Linked DNA regions of Homo sapiens: region 2 is linked to region 1. Evidence: promoter capture Hi-C in 16 types of primary human blood cells and fetal thymus (Javierre and others, 2016). All regions are on one chromosome and are shown on one strand. Each heading gives the region's core, a stretch centred on a gene start or on the middle of the fragment in contact. The rest is flanking DNA. Distances are from core to core; before and after follow the strand shown. Region 1 holds the start of PDLIM3 (PDZ and LIM domain 3). Region 2 holds the start of LOC124900830 (a long non-coding RNA gene).

Region 1 (5,493 bases), core at 19-2,518:
GTATAGATATTGGCTACATCTAAATGATGCCAAAATGACCAGCAAAAAGGCAAAGAAAAAATCAGCTGTTTATATAAGCCAGCTCGTGAAGTAAGGTAAAAACAATTACTATAATTACACAACACCAAATGACTTGTCTGATTTTTTTTTTCTGAATGGACCTCTGTGTGTGTGCACGTGTATGTCTGCACCACGCAGACAGAGCCAGCAGCTGACTGAAGAAATGTGCTCTGCAGTGATACAGCCACAGCCCAAACAGGCAGTCAGCAGGACACACAATGTTCAGCTCCTCGATGGTCCAGCATAGATGGGGCACTGGGAAATGTGTGGAGCTAGAAAGTGCTTATCCCCTGGGACTTTTATGTAATCCACCACAGCGGACAAAGTAATGCCCATCCTACCTTTGTGATTTACATTTGCCCAGGCTGGTTCGCTTTGCTTACTGCTTACTGCTTACTGCTTTCTGCATCTCCTTTCTCTTTCCTCCATCAGTCTTAAAACTGCTTCCAAACAGACTGCCCTCTTAAAAGTCTGCTGCAGCTCTGTCCTCCTGGACCAATACGACCCTATCATATGGGGCATTAAGTCCAAGACCCTTATTCTTGAGTGTTTAAAGCATTTCTTATTTCTCTTCCCTCATTCTCCCCTCTCCCTTTGGGAATCACAACATCCCAACGCGTAACACCAGAAATACTTGAGTCCACACTGAGACTACCACAGGACCCCGGCCAGACTCTCCTGCACTTTGGGAGGCTGAGGTGGGAAGATTGTTTGAGCCCAGGAGTTCAAGACTAGCCTGGGCAACAAAGTGGAGACCCGGTCTCTAAGAAAAATAAATAAATAAAATAAAAATTTAAAAGGACATTAAGTAATTTGGCCAAAGCCGCAGAGGTCGTAAGTAAATATTAACGCACTCGAAACTGCTAAATAACTTATTGTATCGATGATGCTCGTTTTAATTGAAAGCATGGAGGCTGTGGTCTGGCTGCTTTCGCTTCCAACAAAGTGCACTGCTGCGCTCCAAGCAGAAGATAAACAGGGAGACAGGTGTGACTTCAAGAGAGCGACGGACGCTGTAACCCGAAGCCCCCGCGCCCGCCGCGGCCCGGGAGGCTGCCCCAGCCGGCCGGGCTGCGCACTCCCGCGGGGCTGGCGCGGCTCTCGCTTCCAAAGTTGGAGCTCTCCGGGGTGGGAGGGGGCGGGGAGGACGGCGGGGCGGTGACGTCACCCCCAGCGGGGATAAAGCGCCCCCGCCCGGGTCGGGGCCAGGACGCCGCCCGGCGCGGAGTGGCTGCCCTGCGCGGGGACACTTAGAGCCCGGTGGGCGGGAGGAAGGCGGCATGCCCCAGACGGTGATCCTCCCGGGCCCTGCGCCCTGGGGCTTCAGGCTCTCAGGGGGCATAGACTTCAACCAGCCTTTGGTCATCACCAGGGTAGGTGTCGGCATTCTTGCTTTTGCTGCGAGGTGGGGACTCCGGCGGCGTCCGGGGGGACGCAGTGGATGCCCCGGGGCCGAGGGCGGCCAGAAAGCGCGCGAGGGCGGGCGGACGGGGCGCTGCTGGCTCCCGGGCTTCGGCGCCCAGCTCCGGGGGCGGCGGCAACTCCGTCAAGTGGCTGCGGAGCGGCTCAGAGATTTGACAAAGTCCGCTCTAAAGGTGTCCCATCCTCTGGGTCCGCAGCGACTTTCCGAGGAGAGCCACTGGGCTCAGGGAAGGCGAGGCTGCCAGGCTCGAGTGCCTCCTCCCCTTTAGGTTTTAAATGTTTTATATGTGATAACAGAAATAAAACACACCCCATCGCCCTTCCGTAACAAATGATGGGTCCCGGGTGGGAGAGGCGAGGGACTGGCACCCCCCGGCATTCCCTGGAGCTGGCGCGCATCTGAGCGTTTTTCTCGTCCGGATGAAAAGTTCAGCAGCGCGCTGTTCGCGGGGCACGACCTGCGTTGGCCAAACTGGAGCCGCTCCTATCAGCCCAGACAGGGGAAGTCTTCCTAATGCTCACTCCTCAGTTTCCAGGCATTTTGAGCACGTTTTCCAAAGCTGAGAACTTGGCTTAGGAATTACCAACTTCTAACTCTAGCTACAAAGAAAACGTGGCAGACAGTTTAGTTTACCTGATGCAAAGTAAACCACTCAGCCTAAAACGGAAAATAATGCTTTAATGTCAAAGTCAAGCTTTACTTGGTGTTCTCTACTGTCTAATGAGAAAACAAGGTAAAAATAAAACCTCAGGGTTTCTCTCCTGTCAGTAAATTTGTAGAATTAATTCTAAAGCATTATTTGGTCTAGCTGGTTTTTTTCTAACACAATGTTTTTCTTCATAGAAAATTAATGTATTATTTCAGTTATCACATATAAAACATTTAATACCTAAAGGCGTAAACTTCCAGAATATTATACTTTTAGTTGCAGAGTATTATACTTTATTTTCTTGTATTCTTCTCATGCCATATTTTATAATTGTATGTGTTATAATCTGATTGATCTGCTCATACAGATTTTGAACAAGGTAATACCTTTTAAATTCTGTTTTATTTATATATGCCTATGAGATTTGGGAACCAACATCCTTTTAAAAATATGTCAAAATGTGTATCCTACAGACGCATACAATGGAACGTTTCAAGCCTTGTTTTACATTTTTCAAAAACATATAAACACATCTGACGTGTTTTTATATGAAACATGAAAACTGTTCAACATACCCCCAAAAACGTTCCTAAGTAAAGTAAGCAGAAAATGCTTCAGTGACCTGGGCCAAGCAATTCCTATTATAGATTTACCAACAAAAACAGTTTCCGTTATATCTACTAAGAAATGTTTTAGTTTCTGGAGTATGGTTTTTATTTAAATTGAATAAGCTTTTGAATCCTAACACAGAATAAATCATATTTATATTAAATTCTAACCAAAATAATTTTGTCACGAAAACTTTTAAGGTGTTTATAAAAGAAATATTTTGCTATTATAGTATAATCGTATGTCAATATAATTAATCATATGCTTGAAATTTTGAGTTGTTGACATTATAAATGTTTATTTTAAAGCAGTACTTACATTCCAGAGTTGGACTACAATAGCTATTGGTAAATATATTTGATATAATGGCAGTTATTATTAGGGAAACCAATTCTATCTGGAATTCCTAACTCATAACTAATTTGTATCACTCATTTTTGACATTTGGTTCAATAACAGTTTATGACCAAATATGATTTCACTTGATTATGGCTTTTCTCTTTAATTAATTCTAGGACAGCAGGTAAAACCAAATCATTTTTGTATCCCAAGTGTCCCCAAAGCCAGGTATATAGTAGATTCTTATTGAATAAATAAGAACATTTATTTATTCAATAAGAACTTTTATGCTTTAGTGAACACCTAATTCAGAATATTTTCACTGAAATGATAAGAATATTGAAATTTGTTAAGGAAAAGAATAAAAAGTATTACAGAAAAGTATTACAGAAAAATAACTATCAGTATTGTTAAATGGTGAATTGTTGTACTGCTTTTAACATTTTAACACCATTTTGAAAGGCAGTGTGTGAGGTTGTAAGTGTGTTATTGTACTCTCTTGCTTGCCAGGCATTGATGGGAACCTTTTATGTGCACGAACTCACTGAAATCTCACAATAATCTTTAGGAGAGTAGCAGTAGTGACATCCCCTTTTGCAAATGAGGAGAATGAGGCTTCAAAAGATTTATTAACCCGCCGATGATCACAAGCAGTGGGACAGGCTCTGACGCTAGGTCTGTGTGCCTCCAAAGCCTGCATTCTGAAGGCCACATGTGAAAATGGACACCTGTTCCAATATTTCTAAAGAGTTGTTTTGTGCCATCCTGTTCATCACTGGCCTTATTGATGCTGTCTTCAACATCTGCCACTTTCCATTTTTTCTACTACTGTCCCTCTTCAAGATTTCCTAGCTCCACGCCTAGACATTTGGCTCCCCCGTCCAATTCACACAGCATATTCTTACCGTCTCTGGAAAATGCCAAATTGCTCCTTTCTCATTCTTAAAAATCCTTCAGCGGCATCACTTGTTTGTAGAGAGTGAAATGCGTGTCTTTGCACAACATTCATGACTTTTCACCATCTCCTATCCCAATTTGAGTTGCTAACTTCATTTCTTTCCTCTCCCTTTGTTGTCTCTCCCTTTCCTCCCCTTGTTCCACACGTAGGCAGTGGTACCGCCCTCTGGACTACTTACGATTTCCCTGACGTGTCTTTGCTCCTGATACCATTTTTCCCCACACCACACCACTGTCCTCTGTGCCTGTGGAAACCACTCAAATGCCTCTCCCCAAGCCTTCTTTCAGTAACAACCATCTCATCCGGTTGATTACTGTAGCTTTCGGCCTGTATAACCCCTCCTTATGTCATGCCTGTACCAGATGTTCCACTGCATCTGTATCCCACCAGATTGCACATTCCCCGAAGGCAGAAACCTTCTAATCTGGGGGCCATTCAGGGCCTAGCACAGTGCCTAGTAGAGCATATGTGTTGTAGAATAAATATAGACACGGTATGAATGATTGACTAGATTGTTCCCTTTTTACATGACTTTATTATAAATAGGTATAGAATGTGTTCTCAAAAATATTTCACAAAAAGATAAGTGAGAATTGTTTTATTGTGAGTTGATTTGTCATGTTTTTGTTTTGTTTTGTTGAGACAGAGTCTCGCTCTGTCTCCCAGGCTGGAGTGCAGTGGCGCGATCTCGCCTCACTGCAACCTCTGCCTCCTGGGTTCAAGCGATTCTCCTGCCTCAGCCTTCCAAGTAGCTGGGACTACAAGCACCCGCCACCATACCCAGCTAATTTTTTTTTTTTTTTTTTTTTTAGTAGAGATAGGGTTTCACCATGTTGGCCAGGCTACTCTCAAACTCCTGACCTCAGGCGATCCGCCCACCTCAGCTTCCCAAAGTGATTACAGTCGTGAGCCACCACGCCTGGCTGATGTGTCAGTTTTAAATAAGTTCTTAATATACAAAGAATTGAAATACCAATATCTACACTTAAAGCCACAAAAAGTCCCATAAACGAGATGTGTTTAATCGAGTCCCCATTAAATCAGCTTTTGTCCTCCTACAAGCTATACCCTTCACTCCCCGCCTCACACTATACAAATACAGACGACAGCAATACTGCTAGACAATGGGGCTCCAACCAGAGTTTGTAGGAGAGTGACAAATATGACTGCCTCCATCAATTGAAATTACAGTTCACAAAATTAGGACACAGGGCCCTCATGCCCGTAATTGTTTACAATCCAAATAGCCAGATGAATCTTTGTATTATAAAAAAATCAAAAGTAAGGTAAATCAAACACCAGACATTCTCAAAACAAATTTTTAGCAACTGGTTGTGATAAACACAATTTTTAGGAAAGCAGTTTCTAGGCAATAAGTGTGATAGACCTTGTGCAATATAAAATTTCAGTTTTGGATGTTCAGTTTAGGGGAGGGAGTTGTTAAACACCGTGTAT
Region 2 (5,108 bases), core at 1,700-4,199, 490 kb before region 1:
GTATGTTACAGGCACAAACCTTGTGATTTTAAGAACTAGAGAAAGATTTTTCAGCAATTGAGAAGTTTCCCTTTTTGTGACCTACTAACTAATGAAACAGGTTGACAAAGAGAGTATCGGACTATAAAAAAGGAGGAAAGACGGATCTTGTAGGAAATTCTGCAGTTTGGTCCCACGTAGGCTGACACACCAATGTTCTCCTGCCTTGATATTTAAGGGTCCCCCTGGGCCGGGGTCAGTGTGTGAGCCCTGCCCTGTACAATTCAATTCTGTTTGCAAACTAAACTGCTGGCCCGTTTGTGGTTGCCTTGGCACTCCTACTTAAGTCTTTTGCTGTTAATATTTTGAAATTTTGAATAAGTATGAAGGTAAAATAGTTGTCAACATTTGCCGGATATGATCTGTTTATATTATTTTATTTATTTTATTTGTTTTGAGACTGAGTCTCGCTCTGTTGCCCAGGCTGGAGTGCAGTGGCCTGATCTTGGCTCACTGCTCCCTCCGCCTTGTGGGTTCAAGTGATTCTCATGCCTCAGCCTCCTGAGTAGCTGGGATTACAGGCTCCCACCATCATGCTCCACTAACTTTTTTTTTTGCTGTATTTTTAGTAGAGACGGGGTTTCATCATGTTAGCCAGGTTGGTCTCAAACTCTTGACCTCAACTGATCTGGTGCCTCGGCCTCCCAAAGTGCTGGGATTACAGACATGAGCCATCGCGCCTGGCCACCAGGTATGATCTTAACTATTTTAAAGGTCATTATAAAAGAACTTTCCTTAAAAATCACTTTAAGCAAATGTTTCCTTATTAGAAGTGTTCCTTTGCATCCCATTTCCCTACTGAAGCATATGAAAAGGCATTTTCTCTTGTTTTGTTTCTGAATCTGATATTTCATTGAGAATATTTTTCTTGCAAGGGTGAGAAAAGTCACTACTCTGTTGTATAATTTGAAGCCAAGTATTACCATCCAATTTTTATCCTAACAGAGCAAAAAATTCAGCCATCTAAGTATTTATGATCATCCCCTTCTCAGTATTTTAATAGCTTGAAAGCAATTTTAAGCAAATTGGTGGTGGTATCTGGTAGCAAATATAACCTTCTCCAACGTAGGGCCCACACTCCCCATCATCCATTTCTGTCTGTACCAAACACACGCATGCTTATGGTAATGGTTGTGCAGAGGCGGCTGTCCTGTGTGGCTGCTCTGGAAATGTGGGTTATACCATCCTTGAAGAGAATCCCTGTGGGTGAATTATAAGAGGTTGAAGACACATATTGTCCAGAGTTTAAAGTCACAAAAAAATAAAGCATTTTCTTCGTGGTAAGACTTATCGGTAGGGCTAGAAAGGACGTAATTACATAGAATATAAATTATGTTTTCATTGCATGTATATAAATGGTGATGTTATATATCTAGGTAAAAATCCTGAAACATAGAAGTGAATTAAAGAAGTGTTTTAAATAACAGATAAATGTGCATTTTCCTCAATAATAACTCATTTATTCAGTTTTATACTTTTACATTGTTTTATGCTTTTATTTGATTCTCATCATAAGTCTATGAGGTGGACAAGGAGATATTGTTTGCTCATTTAGCTGATGACAAATTACATGCATATTTAATCAAGATAGAAAAATCTTGATTCTCCCTTGGCAAAGCTGAACTAAGGATAGATTAAATACATGCTGCACTGCCCCAAAGACCAGATAAAACCCTGCAGCTGTCATTACCCAGACAAGGGAGGCAAAGCCAGGATGATTCTGCCCTGGATTTTGTGAACTGTGTCAATCCATTCCCTTTGCTTTGGGAGTGGTATATTGCTCTGGGAATCACTGACAATATGGGAGGAGAAATAAAAACAAGCTTCTTGATTTCCAGTTCTGATCTCTGAGCGCTAGAGGACAGTATTGTTCTCTGCACAGCGCGCGGAGAACCCGTTCTAGGAGAAGTGATGGGACCCCCGCAGTCAGTATACCCCACACCTTCCCAGGCTGGGCCTGGGCCATACGGATCAGGGATGGGATGTGGCTTTGCATCTCCAGTTCCAGATGGCATCTCGTTCCCCAGCCCTGTGCATTCACAGAGCTTTGGCCTCTGTACTGAGTAGCGTGGGATGTATGAGGGGAAAGAGACAGTCTGTTCATTTACATGTTCTGCGTTGGGGTTTCATTACGTCTTTTAGCCCTTGAAACCTCTTCCTAAGTGATAAGCTATCAATGAGTGATTGTTATCATAGGCTCAGAGATTTTTCAGCCTGATTTATTTAAACTCTAGAGAAAGGAAAACAGGAGATGATGGCTTTGATCATGCTATTTGCTATTCTGAAAATTACAAAGGGAGGGGAGAGAGAGAAAAAAAATCTCTGCTCCCCTAATGAACTACTATATAAAAACTGCTATATAAGAAGATACGCGGTGCGATCCCCAGTGTAACGTACTTCACTGATGTTCAACATGCTTCCGTGGGCGTGTGTGGGTGGAAAGATGTTTCTTGTTACTGCCAAACAATCCAGTGTTTCTAGAGATAAAAACAGCCTGTAAAAGTTTTCTACTGTGGAGAATGACAGGCTTTGTGGCCTATGTGATATGTGCTCTCTATAGTCCAGATGAAGACAGTAACTACTGATCTGTGAAACCTCTGCAACACAACGGGGCTGCTCACGGCCACACGCCTGGCCTCACAGGTGACGCCTTCGCCCTCCTCTGGGTTCCCTGTTTCTCCCTCCTCCGAACTGAGCATCTGTCTTCTTCTGACAAGTACTTTCTGCTACCTTGTGCTTCAAGTCAATTTCTAGAGACACCAGATAGATTTCAATTCTGTAAAGATTTACTACGAATCACACAGTGCTGGACGACGTGCTAACACATATTCACATATGATGCTGGCTCCAGAGCTCAGTAAGCTGAGCACCTCCAACATCCCCCTCACAGCCATGGCCTGTCCTGCAGGTGCTGGTTTCTGCTGCAGACACAGGCTCTCCAGGCAGCCCTGTGCTCTTTGCAGCTATTCCTGGAAGCCTTGGGACGTCTCACCGATGCCCTCCATGTTCGGTTCTGCACACCTGCCCTTCTACGAGTCTCTTCTCTCAACGCCTCCTTACCCGGTTGCTGTCCATATTGCAGAAGAGGGCAGGGCCCAGGGAGCTGAATCCCGGCAAGTCCACGCTGCTGAGCTCCCAAGACCTTCAGTAAAGTAGGATTGTCTCTTTCACACCTAGCCCTGCATCCACCGCCATCGACCCAGGGTAAGGACCAGCACATGAAGGCCAAACTCCTTCCCTCGTTTCCCTTTACACCCATGTCTGCCTGTGAGAAGCCCTGGCTCATTCTCCTTCAGCCACAGGCCTCAGGAAGTCTCCTCCCTAGCGGTTGTCTCAGGCACTCTGGGTTCCAGCATGGCCTACGTGAAGCCTTCCTTAAAAGTGACAGCGCAGGACGTCCCCACTCAGGAAGCTCACACTCACGACTGTGCCTCTTCCTACACTCAGTAGAGTAAACTGTTTACAGTAGATGCTGACCAAGTGTTAGGTGAGAGTGGTGACGATGAGTGTGGAAATCTGCCTTAATTTTATGAGTTACCAACCTGTCATTGACTTCATGTTCATTCTGGCAAGAGCTAAGAGAGATACTATTGAGTATTTTAACACAGACTTCACTTGCTTGGGTGAACTGTAGACAGAATCCATCTTTAATGACCTATTTCTGTTACTGAACTGAACTGGTGTCTGCTCTCCTGTGGGGTGAGGCCAAACATCCACACCGTGGTTTGCAGCAGGGGAAAGCAAGGTGTTTATTTGCAGGATGCCAAGGAAAGAGAATTGGGCAGCTTACAATTGAGACCTGACCTCTCGGTGGCTTACAGGTAGGAGATTTTAAATCTGGAGAAGCAGAGATTGCAGGCAAAGAAGTCAATTAATATATTGAGGCTCTATATTGGTTTGGCCTAAAAAAGTAGGGTGTCATGAAGCAGGGTTCCACAGGTCACAGGTGGATTCAAAGATGTTGGGGTTTGCAATTGGGTAAGGAGGTGAAGCTTTATCTAAATACCCCATGACTTTACCAAACACCCCATGACTTCAACTCCCTTGGTTATTGTTTTAAGCTACTATTACCTTCTTGCTGGTCAAGTTGCTCATTTACTCTTCAGGGATAGCTGGGTGCCTGGAATTCCCCTTGAAGAAATTCAAGATTTTTCTTTCATGCTTGAGGGACTTGCAGGCCCCTAAGAGGGATCCCTGCTCTGTCTCATTTCTAATGGTTTGTTGTTAGGAAACCTCTCTAATGAGACCATGAAGTTCTTGAGGTGAAGGCACTGATCTTATATCTCTCCTTTTTTTATCTTATTGTTGTTACACACACTCTCCATAAACTCCATTTTGAGAAACCCAGGTTTCAGCTGCCACTGCTTGTGTTTCTTGCTCAATCCCTCTTGTGTCCATCTCCAACAATCCTCTCTCAGAGACATCCTTCAAATCTTTGCTAAAATGTCACCTTCACAAAGACCTTTTCTTACTGTCTTATTTAAAGTGGCAGGCCTCCTCTCCCCCATCGTGGCATCATTTTACCCCCTGGCTTTTATCACCACCTGACATGCCATATATTTTCACCTTGTTTATTGCCAGCACCCGCCTACCCCACTACAAAATAAGCTCCATGAGGGAGCTTTGTCTATTTAGTCCACTACTGTATCCTCAATGTCTGCAAAAGTGTCTAGCACATAATCAACACTTCATAAACAGGTGTTGAATAAATAAATCCATCAAGCATTTCACACAGCATTTTCCCCAAAGCAGGCAGTTAGGAAATATTTATTTGAGCTAACACAGCTATGTTTTCATCAGTTCAGGAAAGTGGAAGGTCAAGGGTCACTTATAGAAGGTGCCACCAGAGCCTAGGGTAGCTCACCAACTGTTAAAATCTCCAGAGAAGGGATAAATGCAATCTTGGGGGGTAGCAAAACAAGCAAAGAATGTTTTGATATGAAGTCCTTTGGAATTGGAATTATGGAAGGCCCTGGAACTAGCTGAGCTTCTAGGATGATTAGTGGAGGATTTCAAAACCATTTGCACTGCAGTTCTCTTTTGGTGGTGTCAGGCTTCCAAACCAAAGA

Evidence for each region. Contacts are between HindIII fragments. The CHiCAGO score rates a contact against its expected background, and 5 or more counts as called.
Region 2: a contact is called between a fragment that was not itself captured here and the fragment with the promoter of PDLIM3 in region 1, in 1 of 17 cell types (megakaryocytes). The highest score is 5.0, in megakaryocytes.

Annotation. Positions count from the first base shown.
Region 1 is chr4:185,531,282-185,536,774 of GRCh38, reverse strand. PDLIM3 (PDZ and LIM domain 3) reads left to right here and starts at 1,268. Exons shown (of 8, transcript NM_014476.6): 1 at 1,268-1,433. The coding sequence starts at 1,341. The HindIII fragment of the contact is 10,243 bases long and covers 1-2,179 here.
Region 2 is chr4:186,018,550-186,023,657 of GRCh38, reverse strand. LOC124900830 (a long non-coding RNA gene) reads left to right here and starts at 693. Exons shown (of 3, transcript XR_007058420.1): 1 at 693-730. It overlaps LOC124900829 (a long non-coding RNA gene), which reads right to left. Exons shown (of 2, transcript XR_007058418.1): 2 at 4,777-5,108. The HindIII fragment of the contact is 2,169 bases long and covers 1,865-4,033 here.